Regions from separate parts of the Homo sapiens genome. Here regions 1, 3, 4, 5, 6 and 7 are each linked to region 2. The links are contacts of gene promoters, found by promoter capture Hi-C in blood cells and fetal thymus (Javierre and others, 2016). All regions are on one chromosome and are shown on one strand. The core of a region is centred on a gene start or on the middle of the fragment in contact, and the rest is flanking DNA. Distances in the headings are between cores, read along the strand shown.

Evidence for each region. The method cuts DNA at HindIII sites, captures the fragments that hold promoters and counts their contacts. A CHiCAGO score of 5 or more calls a contact.
Region 1: a contact is called between the fragment with the promoter of UBTD2 here and the fragment with the promoter of FGF18 in region 2, in 13 of 17 cell types (total CD8 T cells, total B cells, naive CD4 T cells and 10 more). The highest score is 11.2, in total CD8 T cells.
Region 3: a fragment that was not itself captured here is called in contact with the fragment with the promoter of FGF18 in region 2 in 1 of 17 cell types (megakaryocytes); the score reaches 5.5 in megakaryocytes.
Region 4: the fragment with the promoter of EFCAB9 here is called in contact with the fragment with the promoter of FGF18 in region 2 in 14 of 17 cell types (M1 macrophages, erythroblasts, M2 macrophages and 11 more); the score reaches 11.0 in M1 macrophages.
Region 5: a contact is called between a fragment that was not itself captured here and the fragment with the promoter of FGF18 in region 2, in 3 of 17 cell types (M0 macrophages, M2 macrophages and M1 macrophages). The highest score is 6.6, in M0 macrophages.
Region 6: a contact is called between a fragment that was not itself captured here and the fragment with the promoter of FGF18 in region 2, in 6 of 17 cell types (M0 macrophages, M2 macrophages, endothelial precursors and 3 more). The highest score is 9.9, in M0 macrophages.
Region 7: a fragment that was not itself captured here is called in contact with the fragment with the promoter of FGF18 in region 2 in 8 of 17 cell types (naive CD8 T cells, total CD8 T cells, M2 macrophages and 5 more); the score reaches 8.3 in naive CD8 T cells.

What each region holds. Positions count from the first base shown.
Region 1 is chr5:172,282,448-172,285,147 of GRCh38, forward strand. UBTD2 (ubiquitin domain containing 2) reads right to left here and starts at 1,317. Exons shown (of 3, transcript NM_152277.3): 1 at 1,149-1,317. The coding sequence starts at 1,218. RefSeq lists a silencer at 910-1,819 and enhancers at 1,394-1,994, 1,995-2,594. The HindIII fragment of the contact is 4,236 bases long and covers 1-2,575 here.
Region 2 is chr5:171,418,385-171,421,084 of GRCh38, forward strand. It overlaps FGF18 (fibroblast growth factor 18), which reads left to right and starts at 1,263. Exons shown (of 5, transcript NM_003862.3): 1 at 1,263-1,847; 2 at 2,023-2,059. The coding sequence starts at 1,816. RefSeq lists silencers at 1,100-1,209, 1,330-1,439, 1,580-1,629, 1,690-1,769. The HindIII fragment of the contact is 2,658 bases long and covers 1-2,485 here.
Region 3 is chr5:172,001,269-172,003,968 of GRCh38, forward strand. All of the region lies in intron 1 of FBXW11 (F-box and WD repeat domain containing 11), which reads right to left. Among named protein-coding and RNA genes, the nearest start is that of FBXW11, 4.0 kb to the right of the region's middle. The HindIII fragment of the contact is 5,721 bases long and covers 1-2,700 here.
Region 4 is chr5:172,192,808-172,195,507 of GRCh38, forward strand. It overlaps EFCAB9 (EF-hand calcium binding domain 9), which reads left to right and starts at 1,365. Exons shown (of 4, transcript NM_001171183.2): 1 at 1,365-1,501. The coding sequence starts at 1,366. The HindIII fragment of the contact is 7,932 bases long and covers 1-2,700 here.
Region 5 is chr5:172,081,737-172,084,436 of GRCh38, forward strand. It overlaps STK10 (serine/threonine kinase 10), which reads right to left. Exons shown (of 19, transcript NM_005990.4): 11 at 1,225-1,348; 12 at 590-769. Among named protein-coding and RNA genes, the nearest start is that of FBXW11, 76 kb to the left of the region's middle. The HindIII fragment of the contact is 924 bases long and covers 873-1,796 here.
Region 6 is chr5:172,029,236-172,031,935 of GRCh38, forward strand. No RefSeq gene overlaps it. Among named protein-coding and RNA genes, the nearest start is that of FBXW11, 24 kb to the left of the region's middle. The HindIII fragment of the contact is 3,212 bases long and covers 1-2,700 here.
Region 7 is chr5:172,298,893-172,301,592 of GRCh38, forward strand. No RefSeq gene overlaps it. Among named protein-coding and RNA genes, the nearest start is that of UBTD2, 16 kb to the left of the region's middle. The HindIII fragment of the contact is 3,437 bases long and covers 1-2,700 here.

The DNA.
Region 1 (2,700 bases), core at 67-2,566, 860 kb after region 2:
GAAATCCATTAGCCAAAAAACTTAGGTGTACATGGTTTGTGAAGAGAGCTTAAGTGACAGGGCAAGCAACTGGTCTAAATGTTAGTATGCTACGAAAAAGTTGTAAACCCTCCCATACCCAAACAATTTAAAAATTTACAGACATGCACATTTTAAGGCAGCTAACATTAGGTCACAAATCAAACCAACGCTGTCATCTTTGCCTAAAGGCTGTTTATCACTAAAATATTCTACAGAATGGACGTAACCAAAGGTCACTTAAATAAAGATAGAACTAATTTTATTATTATACTGCCATACTACAACTACTACTGATTGAATTAAAATACCTATCCTCAGCACGCTTTTACTATAAAGTAGGAGTGCGTTCCCGTGTTAGAAAACTTTTAAAGTACTGATCTTACTGGGTGGGGTAAGTCAGGGTCCAACTGCACTTGTACTTTTATCCTACATATTTTCCTTCTACGTAAGACAGATGGGAATGTGATTAGCCCACCCCGACAGCACACCGGCCTAACACCCCCAAGCTCTAGCTAGGAGCCACGTTTTACCCGGGAAGACCGTTTCCCCACCCCTCCTTAATACAATGCCTGCGGCCACTGGAGACTCCTCCAGCCGAGCTCCAGAAACTCGCAGGTTTAAATGGCCAATCTGGAACCAACCGGGGCAGCTGTCATCTGAAACTCAGGAAAGCTGAGACCAGCCAACTCCACAGAACAAGGAAGGGTGCGGAAAGATGTGGCGGGGCCCGTCGGAGGGAACGCATCAAGCTCCCTCCCCCCGCCATCAATTCGCTTTTCTGCAACCCCGGCGCCGCCATCCTGATCCTCAATAATTAAACGGCCTGGAGAGGGAGTGAGGTGGCCAGAAGGGCAGCTTCGGGTCCGACTTCCCCGAGCCGAGCGGGGCGGTCGGCGAGGCCAAGGGCTACGTCCCCGGCGCTCAGAGGACTTTTCTTCAGGGCTGGGGCGGGAAGGGGCGACCCCCGCGGCTGGCAGGACAGCCGGAAGCGGAGCGCGGGGAATGACGTGGAAGAGGGGATGACAAAGGGGCGCGGGGGCCCGGCGCGGCCCGCGGGGGTCGGGACAGGTGGCCGGGCCTGGCCGGGAACAATGGGGGGCCGAGGCTGCCCCCTGGCGCTCACCTACCTCCGGTGCCCTCCGAGTTCTCGTTGAGGCTGCCCGAGGAGTCGTGCTGGGCGCCCACACACCCGCCCATGGGGGCCCCCGGCGCCTCGTCCGCCACCTCCGGACGCTCGTCCGGGCCCGCCGCCGCCGCCGCTGCAGCCTCCTCCGGCGCCACCGCCGAGCTCCGGACAGGCGCGCCGCTCCGCTCGCCCGCCGCGGCCCAGCCTCCGCCCCCCTCGCCGCTCCACCCACCGCCTTGGCTCGGCCCCTTCCTCCGCGCCCACTTCTACCTCAACCCCCGGGCCGCCCGCCCGGCAGGCCTGGCCCGCGCGCCGCCCTCGCCTTCGGCTCAGCCCCGCCAGGCCAGGGCTGGCCCATCCCGGGCGGGCCGCAGCGCCCGCCTCGCCCCCTCACAGCCCCGCACACCCGAGTCCAGGCGAGCCCCGCGCCGGCGCCTCGCGTCCGCCAGGACCCATCGGCCCCCGGCCCGCGGCGCCGCCCTCCGCACCCACGGCCTGGGCTCGGCCCGGCCCGCCCGGAATCGCCGGAGAAGGGCGGGGCCACCGGAGGCCGCGCTCTGATTGGCTGCGGGCGGGGCTGCGAGCGGAGCGGGGCGAGGGTGAGGCGGGGGAGGGGACGCAGGGGGCTAGGTGGGGGGAGGACTGCAGGCGGGGGGAGGACTGGAGGCGAGGGGAGGAGGAGAGAGGGAGGACGGGAAGAAGAAAGGAGAGGGAAGAAGGGAGGGAAAGCAGGAAAAAGCCGAACAAAAGTGAGAAAAGAGGAGTGGGAAGGGGCGAAATCGAGTTCCTGGCTCCTCGGCCGTCGGCTCCTTCTTGCTGGTGGAAGCGGGTCGCACGGGGGAACCGAGAAGTAGTCGTGGAAGACTCGCAGGCGGGGACGGGGCGGTTTCCCAAATAACGGGGGCTCGGGGGAGAGTGTCCTGGCCGAACGTTGAGGTCCCAGCGCCCTTTGAATTTGTATGGCGCTCCGTGGGTTGGTACCCCGAATCTGGGCTTCCTCTTGCCTGCCCACCCCCGTCTTCCCTAAAATCATGGGGCCCCATTATTAGGGGTGGAGGCAGTGGTTGTGGCAAACCAAACTGAGATTAGAGGCGAGGCGTCCTGATGGAACGCCTGGAAAGAAGAGATAAACGCTGACCTTAGTTCAGGGGGCGTGGGTTTCTTTCATTTTCACGGGATTAATGATTCAAACAATACTACTTATCAAGATCCTGCCTTTGGGTATCTTAAATCGTCCTTAGGCCAAAGTGAAGTGTAAATGAGTGAAACACCCTGCCTTTTCGAATCTAGAATTTGGGACATTGACCACGCCCAACATTCTTGGCGGTTACTTTTCCAATCTCAGCCAAATTGTTAATGGTCCCTTTAGAATTGTGCTTCGTGCTATGATGCCTTAAAATTGTTATCATCCTGCTTGGGACTTTCTAAAGCTTATTTCTGCCTAAGAAGCTGTTTTAACTATCTGCTCCATTTTTATATCAGACTTTCTTTTTTTAACATCCTGGGTCAGCTTTTGCTTAGCACGAAAAAAAATTTTTTAAGTTGAAATACCT
Region 2 (2,700 bases), core at 13-2,512:
CATGGCTTCAGCAAATAGCACTGTTCGACAGTCCTACCTCAGTTTATGCTCCAGTGGACCATCAACCATTGCCAACGCAAGGAGGCTTTAACCAAATAGTCCAGATTCCTGAGTTTTGCTTGAGCCTGTCCTCCAGCGTCTTTCTCACTGTGACCTATTTTCCTTAGCATCAGGCTCAAGCAGAGCTTGGCTGACACCAGCTCTAGACAGTGAGGCAGGTACGTGACAAGAACACCTACGTTTTGGGGTTGGTGGGAAGGACAGGAGTTATGCCTCTGGAAGGGGCAGAGGCGGTAAGAACCAGTGTCCTGAATGGGGCCCTGGTTAAAGGAACGAAGCTGCCTAGTATGCAAACGGAGGCAAGTCTTAGTCCGGTTTTGGGAGGAGGCCGGAAGAGGGCCTCAGCGTGGTCGCTGACCAGAGTCCTGCTGGCTGCTCCCCGGCGTGCAGCCGTCCGTGCTGGGGTTGCAGTGACGTCTCGGGGCCGCTTGGTGGTAGCCGTGTGTTTCCAAAGCTGGCTCGCCTACGGGAGAGTCCAGCTGGGATCCCGTGAACCGACCCCAGAGCCCCGGAGGGGGCGAGGGGTGGGAAGGAGAGATGCCCGGGAGCCCCCTTCGCAGCGGCAGGGACGTAAGAAGAGGACGGGGGCTCACTTAAGTGGGTAGCCAGTCAAGAGGGTGGCTGGGAAACTCCACGATCGCAGGGCGGGTAAAAGCGACCCCCATTCAGTGGAGCCGCCCCGGGGCTGGGTTTGACCCGCCCCTCTCGGCTCTCCACTAGAGCGCTGGTGAGTGAGTGCGAGTAGCGAATGTGGGCAGGTGAGGACGTTCCGTACCTAACTGCGTTCTTGGGGAGCATCGCCTGCCCAATTTGGGCAACGTTTGCGCGGAGGAGCGGTCACTGCGCTCGGGCGCAGAGCTCCGACGGCTTCCAGCGCTCACCAGCTTCAGTCTCGCGGGTCCTGCCCCTTTGGAGCTGCCGGTCCCGTCTCCGAGAGTCTGAGCGCCTCCCCTCCAACCCCGAGCCGCCAGGAGAAGGAGGAGGAGGCAGCGAGAGGCCGCGGCAGGCAGGCGAGCAGGCAGGGCCGCCTTTGATGTGGGCTGGGCGCACCCAGGCGAGCTGAGCGCCCGTCCGGCCGCGCCCCGAGGGGGGAGCCCCCAGGCCCCGCATCCTCATTGTGCCGGCTCGGGCCCGGGCCCGCCCCCGGCCCCCCGCCCCCTCGCCGCCCGCGCGTAGAAAACGCCCCGGCCGCCGCCAGTGGTGGGAGGCGGCGATGCGCACGGCCGGAGAGACGCGGAGGAGGAGACATGAGCCGGCGGGCGCCCAGACGGAGCGGCCGTGACGCTTTCGCGCTGCAGCCGCGCGCCCCGACCCCGGAGCGCTGACCCCTGGCCCCACGCAGCTCCGCGCCCGGGCCGGAGAGCGCAACTCGGCTTCCAGACCCGCCGCGCATGCTGTCCCCGGACTGAGCCGGGCAGCCAGCCTCCCACGGACGCCCGGACGGCCGGCCGGCCAGCAGTGAGCGAGCTTCCCCGCACCGGCCAGGCGCCTCCTGCACAGCGGCTGCCGCCCCGCAGCCCCTGCGCCAGCCCGGAGGGCGCAGCGCTCGGGAGGAGCCGCGCGGGGCGCTGATGCCGCAGGGCGCGCCGCGGAGCGCCCCGGAGCAGCAGAGTCTGCAGCAGCAGCAGCCGGCGAGGAGGGAGCAGCAGCAGCGGCGGCGGCGGCGGCGGCGGCGGCGGAGGCGCCCGGTCCCGGCCGCGCGGAGCGGACATGTGCAGGCTGGGCTAGGAGCCGCCGCCTCCCTCCCGCCCAGCGATGTATTCAGCGCCCTCCGCCTGCACTTGCCTGTAAGCGCCCGCGCGCGGGGCTGCCCACCTTGCCTGGCTGTCTGTCCGTATGCCTGTGCCCTGTACCTCTGTCTGCCCGCCCGTCGGTTCACCTGACTCTTCGACTGCGTGTCTGTCTGTCCGTGCGCCCCCTTCCTCAGGTCCCACTGACCGCTTCTCCATCTGTTTCCCGCAGGTGTTTACACTTCCTGCTGCTGTGCTTCCAGGTACAGGTACGTGGGCTCCTGACTTTGACCTCCTCCCGCCCCTGCCTCGCGGTACACGCCGACCCCCCTTCCCCGGCCGCGCCCCCTCCCTGTGCCCCACCCCTCCTGGGCGCTGAGCCCAGTGCACCTGTTCCCAGGGCGCGGAAGGGCGGCTCCGCGTGCGCCCTGCGCCGGCGGGGAACCGGCCAAGGGCAAGGGGCTCTGCCGCGGGGCCCGAGGAGGCGCTGGCTGTCGCGGCCACTGTCGGCCTCGGCTGGGAGGAGATCCCGCAGAGCCGGCGGGCTCAGCCGCAACAATATACCCAGCTCTAAGACCCCTGCCCGCAGCCAGCGAGGGGTAGGACCTAGGGATTTTCTCTGCCAACCTTCCCTTAACATCGCCGCTTCCAAACAAAAAGACTTTCAGCCGAGTGGATTTCGAGTCCAGGGAGAAAGCTTCAGTTGTAAATTACTCTGTGGTTTTGAAGGCGCTTGCAGCACTGAGACACACACACAGACACACACACATGCCCGGGACGAGGGGAAGCTCGAGGGCGCCTAGGCCGAGTGGCCGCTGCCCGCGAGGCCGCTCCCGGATGGGCCGCGCTCCGCACTCCCTCGCCTAAGGTGGTGCAGCCCTCGTTGGTTCCCCGCCTGCTCCCGGTTCGC
Region 3 (2,700 bases), core at 165-2,664, 580 kb after region 2:
GAAGAGTTTAGGCACAACCACAAGTTTTTATAATATAATAGGATGATATGATAAGTCCCATAAAAATTTGGAACTGATTATTGTGAGAATTAGTAATGTGGGTGAAAATGTTTAGAAAAGAGGATAGTTAAGACACAGGCAAAAGGCAATAATGTCTGAAAATGATCACCAGGAAAATTCAACCCAACATTTCCTGAAAGCCTACCACAAAGAAGACACCGTGTGTATGAAGGAACTGTGTGTCACTGGAAGATAATTAAGGTCCCAGCCCTTCCCATGAGGAGTTTATCATTCAACAGAGGACACAAACAGGTAACTATATTACAAGCCTGAAATATGTTAAGTGCTACAGGATAAATACAAAGTGCCAGAATTCATTCATTTCATTTGAGTGTCATATAGGCAGTGCTATACAGACACAAAAACCAGACAGTCTCTGCTACCATAATATAAACTGACATCAAAAGAGGTGGCACCTATTGTGTTTTATGGGTGGATAGGACTTCATTAGCATAAATGAAAGAGAAGATTGCTGAGATATAACCTAAGCCAATTTGGCCAGAGAACCACCTATTAGATCCTTTTGATAAATATCAGTAGCCTTCAATAAATGGGCTTAGGTCCATTCCTATCAGTGCTGACAAAGGAAACGTGTGAGCAGAATCTGGAGGACCATGGTCCTCCATGTGCTAGAATATACAGTAAGCAAGGAAAGTAGGCAGAAAAGCCATAAGGGAGAATGGAATACAAAGGAAGACTGGAATTGGAATCACTAGGACTTAAAATGCTTTGTTTTCTATGAAGAACAAATATCACAAGGTAGAACCCAGGATCCCACAGATCTTACAGGGCAGATAATTTTGTTTCTAGAATTCACAGGCTCAAACAACACTAGTAAGAGGCATATATGTGCTGTTGTGAATCTATGTAATGGCTGAGTGATTCTCCTGGGCTAGCTCCCTATTTGCAGGAGACAGACTATAGCAGTCAAGAGCCCAGAATGCCAAGACTTGTGTGCAGGAACATGTTTATCCATGTCAAATCTGAAAGGATATCTAACCTACTGCAAAATCAGGGGCAAAAATTGATATATTTGAGCCAATGCCTCTTTAGGCAGGTCAGTGAGGTCCATATATTTTATATAAATGTGTGTGTGTGTGTGTGTGTGTGTGTGTGTGGTTTATTCATTTGGACCCTATTGAAACCTGTGTCCACTGAGTCTGCATTCAGTAAGTTAGCACCCCTAGTGGTGTGCTACATGAGGAGAAAGGTGGTGACAAAGTAATATCCAATTTCTTGATGAAGTCACTAAACAACCCCACTCACCCCGAGAAAGTCAATGACAGGAAGAAAAAAAAAAGATCCAAAAAGAAAAAAAGACAACATTTCCAGTAACTTCATTTATTCGTTTCTTTCTTTTTTCTTTTCTTTTTTTTTTTTTTTTTTTTTGAGAGTGTCTTGCTCTGTTACCCAGGCTGGAGTGCAGTGGCACAATCACAGGTCACTGCAACCTCAAACTCCTGGGCTCAAGCAATCCTCCCCACCTCAGGCTCCTGAGTAGCAGGGACTATAGGAGTGAACCACTATGCCTGGCTAATTTTTTTATTTTTTGTAGAGACAGGGTTTTGTTATGTTGCCTAGGCTGGTCTCTAACTCCTGGGCTCAAGCAATCCTCCCACCTCCTAAAGTGCTGGGATTACAGGCTAGAGCCACCGCACCTGCCCACACCTTCTTAATAAGGATCAGTGTATTTTAACCTACATTACTTCATTGAACAAGTAATACAGCCACTTAAGAGATAAGACAGAAGGGAAATGACTCACTTAAGGTCACTTAGCAAAAAGGGAAGTCATTTAACAATTAATTATAAACCATCCATTAATTGTGTAAAGGGAAGAGGGGATTCACTCACACCCGTGGAGGAGGCAGGATCGCCTTTCCTAAAGTGATAGCATCAATTTCTGCTGGCTTCTTACAGGGTAATCTAATCATCTTTCTCTTCCAATCAGAAGCTCTTGTGAGTGCTTTCTAGTGATGAGTGCCTGAAAATCAAGTCATATTCCTAACTCAAAGGTTAATAAATACCACGTGATACATATTGTACAGTTCTCATTCTTCCCAATGAAGTCCATTGAACATAGCCGGATAAACTTTACATATTTCCAAAATGAATTACTAGTTTTCTGCCTCATTCATAAGGCGAATTTTACCAAACTCAGAAGTTTGGAAAAATAGGCCCACTAACAGGTATAGCCCTGGGCCAATATAAGGCCCTAAAAGTCATCTGGCGGTTAAATTATTTACCATTAGTAACTGTAAATTCAGGGTCTAAATTAAGAGCTTATAGACTTTACTAATATTCAAAGCTGAATCCTATAGAGTGGGTCAGGAGGAGAAGCAACCTGGGTGGACCCAGGCCTCAGGCAGCGGTAGGAGTCAAAGTGGGGGTTATATTTTAGAAATTTAACTATTCTGCTATCACCAGCTTTATTTCCTAATATACTTATCAAAAATGCAAGGAAAAACAGAAGAATCAATATTAAGGAAAGTACAGGGATGAAGATTAGAAAATGGAGATAACCAAGAAGTCTGTTTCCTCTTTTTAATACAGCACACTTTGGAACAGCAAATGAAAGTTATCTTGTTAAGCATTAAGTGCCAAACTGGTACAAGCAGCACAATCACAAATATTTGAGTACT
Region 4 (2,700 bases), core at 115-2,614, 770 kb after region 2:
CACTTTGTGAGGCCAAGGCGGGTGGATCACTTGAGGGCAGGCATCAAGACCACCCTGGCCAACATGGTTAAACCTCATCTCTACTAAAAATACAAAAATTGGGCTGGGTGCAGTGGCTCACGCCTGTAATCTCAGCACTTTGGGAGGCCGAGGCAGGCGGATCACAAGGTCAGGAGATGAAGACCATCTTGGCTAACACGGTGAAACCCGTGTCTACTAAAAATACAAAAATTAGCCGGGAGTGGCGGAGTGTGCCTGTAGTCCCAGCTGCTGGGGAGGCTGAGGCAGGAGAATGGTGTGAACCTGGGAGGTGGAGCTTGCAGTGAGCCGAGATCGCGCCACTGCACTCCAGCCTGGGAGACAGAGCGAGACTCCATCTCAAAAAATAATAATAATAAAAATAAAATAAAATAAAAAATAAAAAATAAAAACAAAAATTTAGCTGGGCGTGGGGGTGCATGCCTGTAATTCCAGATACTCGGGAGGCTGAGGCAGGAGATTCGCTTGAATCCAGAAGACAGAGGTTGCCGTGAGTCAAGACTGTGCCATTATAGTCCAGCCTGGATGATAAGAGTGAAACTCTGTCTCAAAAAAAGAAAAAAAAGAGGCAGGGCTCAATGGTTCAGACCTGTAATCCCAGCACTTTGGGAGGCCAAGACGGGCGGATCACAAGGTCAGGAGATGAAGACCATCCTGGCTAACGTGGTGAAACCCCGTCTTTACTAAAAATACACAAAATTAGCCGGGCGTGTTGGTGGGCGCCTGTCGCCTGTAGTCCCAGATACTCAGGAGGCTGAGGCAGGAGAATGGCGTGAACCCGGGAGGCGGAGCTTGCAGTGAGCAGAGCTCGCGCCACTGCACTCCAGCCTGGGTGACAAGGCAAGACTCTTGTCTCAATTAAAAAAAAGAAAAGAAAAAAGAAAAACTTCCTCTCTTTGGCATTATTATACTGTAGTTATTCTAGGCTCTTTTAGTACTTTTCCATGTGTTTTTCAATTTTTCTTCTTTCTAATAAATGATTTAGGCTATAAATGCTCTGAAAACCACTTGGGCTGTGTAGCAGTTTTCCTATGTAGCACATTCTCTCATTCATTTCTGAACAGCCTGTGGATCTCCTTTAGAACTGATTGTATTTTAGTGACATAAGGATAATCACGTTACCAAGAGGTTTCGGACAGCAGATATCTATCTATAGCATAGCTGGAAAAATTAAGAAGCAGCAATTTTAATTTTTGACTGTTTCCTCTGACGTGTTTACCTTCACTGCTGCCAGATCTCAGACACTATATCCAACATTCTACTTCTGAGGCAGGGTTCTGTATTCTATTTCTGGTTGCCAGAGCCTTCAGTTGACACAGTACTAAGATGAGACTGAAGCAAGGATCGTTTCTGTGGTACCTCTATCTGGACAAAATATACTGCTTATTATCCGTGAGAAACGTGAAGGCTTTGGCAGAATATTTTCATATTCTGGACGTGCACGGCAAGAACACCTTGAATGGTCAGTACTTTCAGACATGTCTCCTCTGGGTCCTTACCTGGGTTTTAGCTAATGTGTAAGAAAACTTGCAGAGCCAGAAACTATTTTGTTAGTACATTTTTTTTTTTTTGAGACGGAATCTCGCTCTATTGCCCAGGCTGGAGTACGATGGCGCGATCTCAGCTCACTGCAATCTCCGCCTCCAGGGTTCAAGCAATTCTCCTGCCTCAGCCTCCTGAGTAGCTGGGATTACAGGTGTCTGCCACCACGCCTGGCTAATTTTTTGTATTTTCGGTAGAGATGACCAGACCATGTTGGCCAGGCTGGTCTCAAACTCCTGACATCAGGTGATCCACCCGCCTCCGCCTCCCTAAGTACTGGGATTACAAGTGTGAGCTACCACACCCGGCCTGTTAGTAAATATTTTATCTTCTAGTTGAAGCACAGAGAGAAGTTGCCAACTCAGAATTGACACGGGGGACAGTTCAGCCGGGAGGAGAAAATTGCAGACTCTGGTGGAATCCTGGCTCCACACCCATTATTCCTTGGTGATGTGGATAACACGTCATCGCCCTCTCTAAGTCTCATTTTCCTCATCTAGAGGTGAGGCTTCTCATAATGGAGTCCATCTCATAGTTGGAAAAAAAAAAGATAATGAGAGTATGGCAAATGCTTAGCACAGTGTCTGACACATCGTAAGGACTTAATAAGTGTTTGTTATTATTGTAATTATTATTCTTGGGAGCTGAGCCCCACTCAGGCATTAACTCTGGAGACCCCTCAGCAAGATTTATCTGTCATGTGGGAAGTTTGAATCTGATGAGCTGCAGGATCCCTTCTACTTATTGGTACTTGTGAATGACCAAAAATAAATAAATAAATAAATAAATAAATAAAAATAAATAAATAAATAAATAAATATAAAAGCTGCAGATCTCAGCCATGCTTGTTGAGTTCACAAACTAATAGAAGTCCAATTAAACACTTGAGGTTATTTTTAGGACTGAGTAGAAATAAGGTATCCTATCCATTCACTCGTTCTGACCTCAGAGAGAGAAATGTCATCCGTGAGTAAGGGGTTCCTCCGTCATGATTTTAAGGAGTTCATTCAATTTTTAAAAACAATTAAAAAAGAACACCTTCTTTCTCTCTTTACATAGAGATTTATGTACAGTGCATTGCCAAATCTTCGCAATAACCCTGCCCTAGATAAGGCAGCT
Region 5 (2,700 bases), core at 85-2,584, 660 kb after region 2:
TGGACTGGCGTTCCTGCCCTGGGGGCTTCCAGCCTGCTTGTCTCCTTCCTCCACAGAGGGAGGCATGGGCTGTTCTTTGACACTCAGATGCCTCTCTCCAGAGCAGCTCGAGAGATGTGCCTCAGGACCACATACCTCCTTCCATCCTCCCCTTCCCCTTCCAACATGGGGAGGAGGAGGAGGCAGAGAGGGTGGAGCATAGAGGGCATGTTGTATGTGCCTACCCACCCAGCACCCACTCGCCCTTCTGGGAACAGCATCTCAAATTCCCCCGGACCACCAGCCCTTCCTTCTTCCCCGCTCTTTCTCGGCAGGGGTTGCTAAGCTGGGAGGATGTAAAGGAAGCTGCCTGAGGCCACAGGGTGAGGCCTGCCCTGAGCCATAGCAACACAGAGGAAAGCAGAGTTCAGAAGATGGAGAAGTGGCTCCTCATGGCGCAGCTTGGGCACACAGATCCAGGCTCACCTGCTCCCGAGCTCTTCAGCCGTACCCCTCTGCTGCCAAGGTGAGGTTGAGGCCACGATCACTTGCAACCAAGAAGGCCCCTAATACTCCGAGATGCCCCTGCCCCCACTGAGCACATACTCACCTCTTTCTTCATCAGTTTGAGCTGCTCTTGGAACCTGGTGTAGTCCCGATCCTGCTCCAGGCGGATCCGCCTGGCCTCCTCCCGGCGGCGCACGGCATGGTCTTGCTCCATCTTCTCCACTTGCTGCTTTTGCTGACGCTCCAGGTTCTCTAATTCCGTGTCAAAGAACTTCTTCTTGGCCTGAAAGGAGCAGAAATTCTGAGAAACTTAGCGAAGTCACTTTATACCTGGGAGGGACATGGGAAGTGGAATGGGGAGAACTCAGAGCTTGTGATCAGACCTAAGCTTGAATCCCAGCTCTACTACCCCGTTGCTGTGTGACCTGGGGCAAGTTACTTAGCCTGAGTCTCCATTTCCTCATCTGCAAAAGGGAGACCAGACCATGTGTTGTTGCACGGTGCTCAATACAGGTTATTTCCCCTCTGGAGATCCTCCTGTGGGACTCAGGATCGCTGTGACCTTCACGGGGTTCTGTGTTAACAAGTCACTGCCTAACAAGATCGGGAAGCCCCCAGGAATTGGGCAATTGTTGTGAATTACTCTCCACTACCCAATCATTCCCACTATGTAGCTTCCACTGAGAGAACACCTGGAGGCAAGAAGCCCTGCAGGGTCCCATCTTTTCTCGCACTCACGTTGATTTCCTGTTCAAAACGTTTATGCATTTGCTCCAGCTGCAGCTCATGCTTGTTACTCAGCTGGGTCTGGTTCCGATGCTCTTCTTTCTGGAGCAGCCGAAGCTCTCGGAGTTCCTGGCGCCTGAAAGGTTAAAGGATACAGATATTTCACAGTAAGAAACTGGCTTCAGAGATCACAATATTTGCAACTTGGAACACTGAAGGTTGGATCATGGAGCAAAATCACACAAGTCTGGGGCACAGGCATGACTAGAACTCAGGCTTCATTTGATATTTATTGACAGACAAAACCTTAATAATCTTAATAAATAAAGAGTGCTTACAAATCAATAAAAAGGAAGATTATCCTAACCAAAAAAAGTGGCAAAGAACATGAACAGACATGAAGCAAAAGATAAAAAGAAATTTTAGAATCACCTATATAGATATAAAATACAAATGAAAAAGAAACTATAATTTCTTGATGTAGAAAACATAATGCAGAAAATTTGATGTAGAAACTACATTTTCATGATGTAGAAAATTTGATGGTAGAAACTGGTACATTTCTGGAGGACAATTTGGTAATAAGCTTATGTTTTTTGACATAGTAGTTTCCACTTCTGGATACTGATTTTAAAGAAATATTTATAGATGCACAAAACCACTGAATAAGAATATTCAGCTGGGTGTGGTGGCTCACACCTGTAATTCCAGCACTTTGGGAGGCCAAAGCAGAAGAATCACCTGAGGTCAGGAGTTTGAGACCAGCCTGGCCAACATGGCAAAACCCCATCTCTACTAAAAATACAAAAATTAGCTGGACATGGTGGCACACGCCTGTACTCCCAGCTACTCAGGAGGCTGAGGCAGGAGAATCGCTTGAACCTGGGAGGTGGAGGTTCCAGTGGGCCGAGATGACGCCATTGCACTCCAGCCTGGACTACAAGAGCGAAACTCCGTCTCAACAACACAAAAAAAAGAAAAAAAAAAAAAAAAAGAATAATCAGTCATTTAAAATGAATGTTATTTAGTAAAAAATTGGAAGCAAATGTCCATCAATATAGGTCTATGTAAATAAAGTATATTGATATGATGGAATTCTATACAACCTTAAAAAAATCAAGTTTTAGAAAATGTTTAATTACATAAGGAAACATATTAAAAATAATAATTCAGCTGGGCACAGTGGCTCATACCTGTAATCCCAGCACTTTGGGAGGCCGAGGAGGGTGGATCACCTGAGGTCGGGGGTTCAAGACCAGCCTGACCAACATGGAGAACCCCATCTCTACTAAAAATACAAAATTAGCTGGGTGTGGTGGTGCATGCCTGTAATCCCAGCTACTTAAGAGGCTGAGGCAAGAGAATCGCTTGAATCCGGGAGGCGGAGGTTGCAGTGAGCCGAGATAGCGCCACTGCACTCCCGCCTGGGCAACAAGGGCAAAATTCTGTCTCAAAATAATAATAATAATAATAATAATAATATTTATG
Region 6 (2,700 bases), core at 197-2,696, 610 kb after region 2:
ATCATGACTCACTGCAGCCTCAAACTCCTGGGCATAAGTAATCCTCCTACTTCAGCCTCCCAAGTAGCTGGGACTACAGGAATGTGGCACCATGCCCAGCTAATTTTTTTTTAATAGATGGGGGTCCCCCCATGTTGCCTAGGCTGGTCTTGAAGTCCTGAGCTCAAGCGATCCTCCTACCTCAGCCTCCCAAAGTGCTGGCGTGAGCAACCACACCCAACTGTTAGGCACTTCAAAACTACACTGGTCAGCTGGGCATGGTGGTTCCCACATTTTGAGAGGCTGAGGCGGGTGGATCACTTGAGGCCAGGAGTTCAAGACCAGCCTGGCCAACATCGCAAAACCCTGTCTCTACTAAAAATACAAAAATTAGCCAGGTGTGTGGTGCATGCCTGTAATCCCAGCTACTCAGGAGGCCAAGATGGGAGGATCACTTGAGCCTGAGAGGCAGAGGTTGTAGTGAGCCAAGACTGCTCCATTGCACTCCAGCCTCAGTGACACAGCAAGACTCTGTCTCAAAAAAAAAAAAAAAAAAAAAAAAAAAAAAAAAAAAAACAGAACAAAACAAAATTTAAAAAACCTACACTGATATAGCAAGGTTTTTATCTCCCTACCTCTGGAGCACATAATCTTATTGGGACATCTGCAGTAATTGCCACCTCTTGTGCAGCAGGTCCAGTTAATGTAATGTATCAATATAGTGAACCAATGTAATGTTACATTGAGGGTCCAGGAAATCAAGTCTTATTTGAACTATATTTTGACAGAGAACAGGAGAGTTAACAGGACAGTCCTGAAGCAAGATGTAAATGTATACTGTTGTCCATCCCAGGTAAATGCAAACTGTTTCTGACCTTCCTTTCTGGTGGATATTGTAAGGTGCACATTTATTAGATCAATAGACACATAATGTGTAAGAGAGGTTATTTGCTTCATTCTAGTACAGGTTGAACATTACAAATTGAAAAATATAAAATTCAAAACACTCCAAAATCTGAAACTGCACTGCTATAACACTCAAAGGGAATGCTCATTGGTGCAATTCAGATTTTGGATTTTTGGATTTGTGATGCTCAAATGGTAAGCATAATGCAAATATTCCAAAACCCCAAATAATAAAAACTACAAAACACTTCTATTCCCTGGCATTTTGGATAAGCAATAACCAACCTGTATAGATAGCATACCCAGCACAGCAATTACAGTGTGGCTACCACTTAGTTAAGTTTGCAATGTAGTTTACTGTCATCTGCCATGATCTAGCTGATTTTGCAGGGTCTAGAGTGGGAGATTAAAATGGAATATAATGAGTACTACCACCCTCGCTTCCTTTCAGTCTTTTAGGTTTAGCATACCATTCTACCCAAGAGACAGTGTTGTTTGTGATTTACTATCTTAGCCAGATTTATGGATAATGGAGTGGGGTAGGGAAGAGTAATTCAGGGGCTTTCACTTGGCCTTTCTTACTACAATAGTCTTTATTCCATAGGGTTATGGAACTAATGCAAAGTTCTCCTAGATGCTAGGTATATACAACCTGATTATACATTTGGGTACCAAGTGTGAGAATGAGTCCATTCTCACACTGCTCTAAAGAACTGCCCAAGACTGGGTAAGTTCTAAAGGAAAGAGGTTTAATTGACTCACAGTTCTGCAGGGCTGGGGAAGCCTTAAGAAACTTACAATCATGGCAGAAGTGGAAGCAAACACATCCTCCTTCACATGGCAGCAGGAAGTAGAAGTGCCAAGCAAAGGGAGCAAAGCCCCTTATAAAACCACTGGATCTCATGAGAACTCACTATCATGAGAACAGCATGAGAGTAATCACCCCCATGATTCAATTACCTCCCACCAGGTCCCTCCCACAACACGTGGGGATTATGGGAACCACAATTCAAGATGAGATTTGGGTGGAGACACAGCCAAACCATATCATTCCACCCCGGTCCCTCCCAAATCTCACGTCCTCACATTTCCAAACACAGTCATGCCTTTTCAACAGTCCTCCAAAATCTTATCTCATTCCAGCATTAACTGAAAAGTCCAAGTCCAAAGTCTCATCTGAGACAAGTCAAGCCCTTCCACCTATGAGCCTATAAAATGGAAAGAAAGTTGGTACAGGGGATATAGGCATTGGGTAAATACATCCATTCCAAATGGGAGAAATTGGCCAAAACAAAGGGGCTACAGGCCCCATACGAGTCTAAAATCCAATTGGGCAGTCATTAAATCTTAAAGTTCCAAGATCATCTCCTTTAACTCCATGTCTCACATCCAAGTCATGCTGATGCAAGAGGTGGGCTCCCACAGCCTTGGGCAGCTCTGCCCCTGTGGCTTTGCAGGGTACAGCCCCCCTCCTGGCTGCTTTCATGAGCTGGCATTGAGTGTCTGCAGCTTTTCCAGGCACATGGTGCAAGCTGTCAGTGGATCTACCATTCTGGGGTCTGGAGGACGGTGGCCCTCTTCTCACAGCTCCACTAGCAGTGCCCCAGTGGAGATTCTGTTTGGGGACTCTGACTCCACATTTCCCTTCTGCAATGCCCCAGCAGAGGTTCTCCATGAGGGCTCTACCCCTGTAGTAAACTTCTGCCTGGACATCCAGGCATTTCCATAAATCCTTTGAAATCTAGGCAGAGGTTTCCAAACCTCAATTCCTGACTTCTATGCACCCATGGGCCAACACCACATGTAAGCCACCAA
Region 7 (2,700 bases), core at 50-2,549, 880 kb after region 2:
CGTAATCCCAGCTACTTGGGAGGCTGAGGCAGGAGAATCTCTTGAACCCAGGAGGCAGAGGTTGCAGCAAGCTGAGATTGCACCCTTGCACTCCAGCCTGGGCAACAAGAGTGAAACTCCGTCTCAAAAAAAAAAAAACAAAAACAGGAAACTTTTTGAGATAGGGTCTCACTCTGTCACTCAGGCTGGAGTACAGTGGCATGATCTCAGCTCACTGCAGCTTCAACCTCCTGGGTTCAAGTGATCCTCCCACCTCAGCACCAAGTAGCTAGGACTACAGGCATGTACCACCAGATCCAGCTAATTTTTTTTTTTTTTTTTTTTGGTATTTTTTGTAGAGATAGGGTTTTTCCATGTTGCCCAGGCTGGTCTTGAGCTCCTGGACTCCAGCAATCTGCCTGTCTCAGCCTCCCAAAGTGCTGGAATTACAGGCGTGAGCCACCATGCCTGGCCTAATGATGGAAGATTTAAGGACTCAGGAATTACCAGGCAGCCATCCAGCCTCTTCGTGGGTCCAGGCTTCACATTGGATTTATACCCTCTTAAACACCAATCTTATTTCTTTAATTCAGGAAAGTACCAGAGTAAACAATCATTTGTGAGTTACAAAGATTAACCATTTGTGAATGGTTAAAGATCTGATTAAAGTTAATTACAATGTTAATACAATTCACAACAAAATTTGATTATTTCTCTTGCATGCAACATTTTAAAATAATAACTAAAATTATGAATGATAACATTCTACCAGGACTATTTGATTTCTATAAATATCATATAATTTCTAAAACACACATTAATAACACGTCCATACAAATATAATTCAAAGAAGGTTTACTATTACTTATCATTTGGCAATGCTTCCCATATAATTTAATATATTTAATAGGCTCAATTCATGTGATATCTCTCTTTTTATAAGGAAAGGTATCATTCTGAGATATTCCAAAGGCCCACCTGGAAAAATTCAAAGTTAATTCAAGGTCAAGAAAAAGACTTCATTTAGATTTTGATTTTGGGGGAGTTTGTCAAACATATCAAAGATTTAAAACATTTGATCAAAATAGGTTCACAGGTCACTGTGAACAATAGTCATTCATTTAACCAAAGTGACAATTAAAAGGCTTCAAAGGCAAATACAGAAAGTTACATAGCTGTAAAAAAAAAAAAAAAAACCTCAGCTCAAGTGTATAAAACATTTATACACTTAGCTTGGAGCTAAGGTTTTTTTTGACAACCATGTAACTTTCTGTATTTAGTCAACTTTCTGATCTCTCAGTTTTCTTAAGTGACCGAAAACCCAATAAAGACAACACAAGGCTGGTTGCAGTGACTCATGCCTGTAATCTCAACAGCCTGGGAAGCTGAAGTGGGAGGATCAGTTGAGGCCAGGAGTTCAAGACAAGCCTGGCGAGCATAGTGAGACCCATCTTTACAAAATAAAAAAGTAGCCAGGTGTGGCAGTGAGCACCTGTAGTTCTAACTACTTGGGAAGCTGAGGCATGGGGATGGCTTGAGCCCAGGAGTTCAAGGCTGCAATGAGCTATGATATGCCACTGTACTCCACCCTGGGCAACAGAGTGAGACCCTGTCTCTTAAAAAAAAAAAATTGAAGCACAGGAAAATTTCTTGGTAAGACACAGAATCTTTTTTTCCCCTAGGCCAATTACCTAAAAGGTAAAGAAAAATTGTTAACAATTTTCTGTTAAGATCAGAGGCCAATACTCTAAGAAAACCTTGTTGTTTTAACAGAGAAGGCCAAATTCTAGTTTTGCTATTAATGCTCAGTTTTTTAGGAAAAACATTCTAAATAATTCCCTACATCACACATAAAATTTATATCACAAGATTCATCTTCCACACACCTACAACCTTCTTATCCATTCAGGTTTTGCTCCTATACTTTTTCTCTTCTCATTTGGAACAACTAACCATTCTACTTCAGGAAAAAATTACTCTCTTTTATGCAGCCAAAAGACACATGAAAAAATGCTCATCATCACTGGCCATCAGAGAAATGCAAATCAAAACCACAATAAGATACCATCTCACACCAGTTAGAATGGCAATCATTAAAAAGTCAGGAAACAACAGGTGCTGGAGAGGATATGGAGAAATAGGAACACTTTTACACTGTTGGTGGGACTGTAAACTAGTTCAACCATTGTGGAAGTCAGTGTGGTGATTCCTCAGGGATCTAGAACTAGAAATACTATTTGACCCAGCCATCCCATTACTGGGTATATACCCAAAGGACTATAAATCATGCTGCTATAAAGACACATGCACACGTATGTTTATTGTGGCACTATTCACAGTAGCAAAGACTTGGAACCAACCCAAATGTCCAACAATGATAGACTGGATTAAGAAAATGTGGCACATAAACACCATGGAATACTATGCAGCCATAAAAAAATGATGAGTTCATGTCCTTTGTAGGGACATGGATGAAATTGGAAATCATCATTCTCAGTAAACTATCGCAGGGACAAAAAACCAAACACCGCATGTTCTCACTCATAGATGGGAATTGAACAATGAGAACACATGGACACAGGAAGGGGAACATCACACTCTCAGGCTGGTCTCAAATTCCTGACCTGAAGTGATCTGCCCTCCTCAGACTCGCAAAACGCTGGGATTACAGGTGTGAGCCACCGCGCCTGGCCTCTTTTTTTTTTTTTTTTTTTTTTTTTG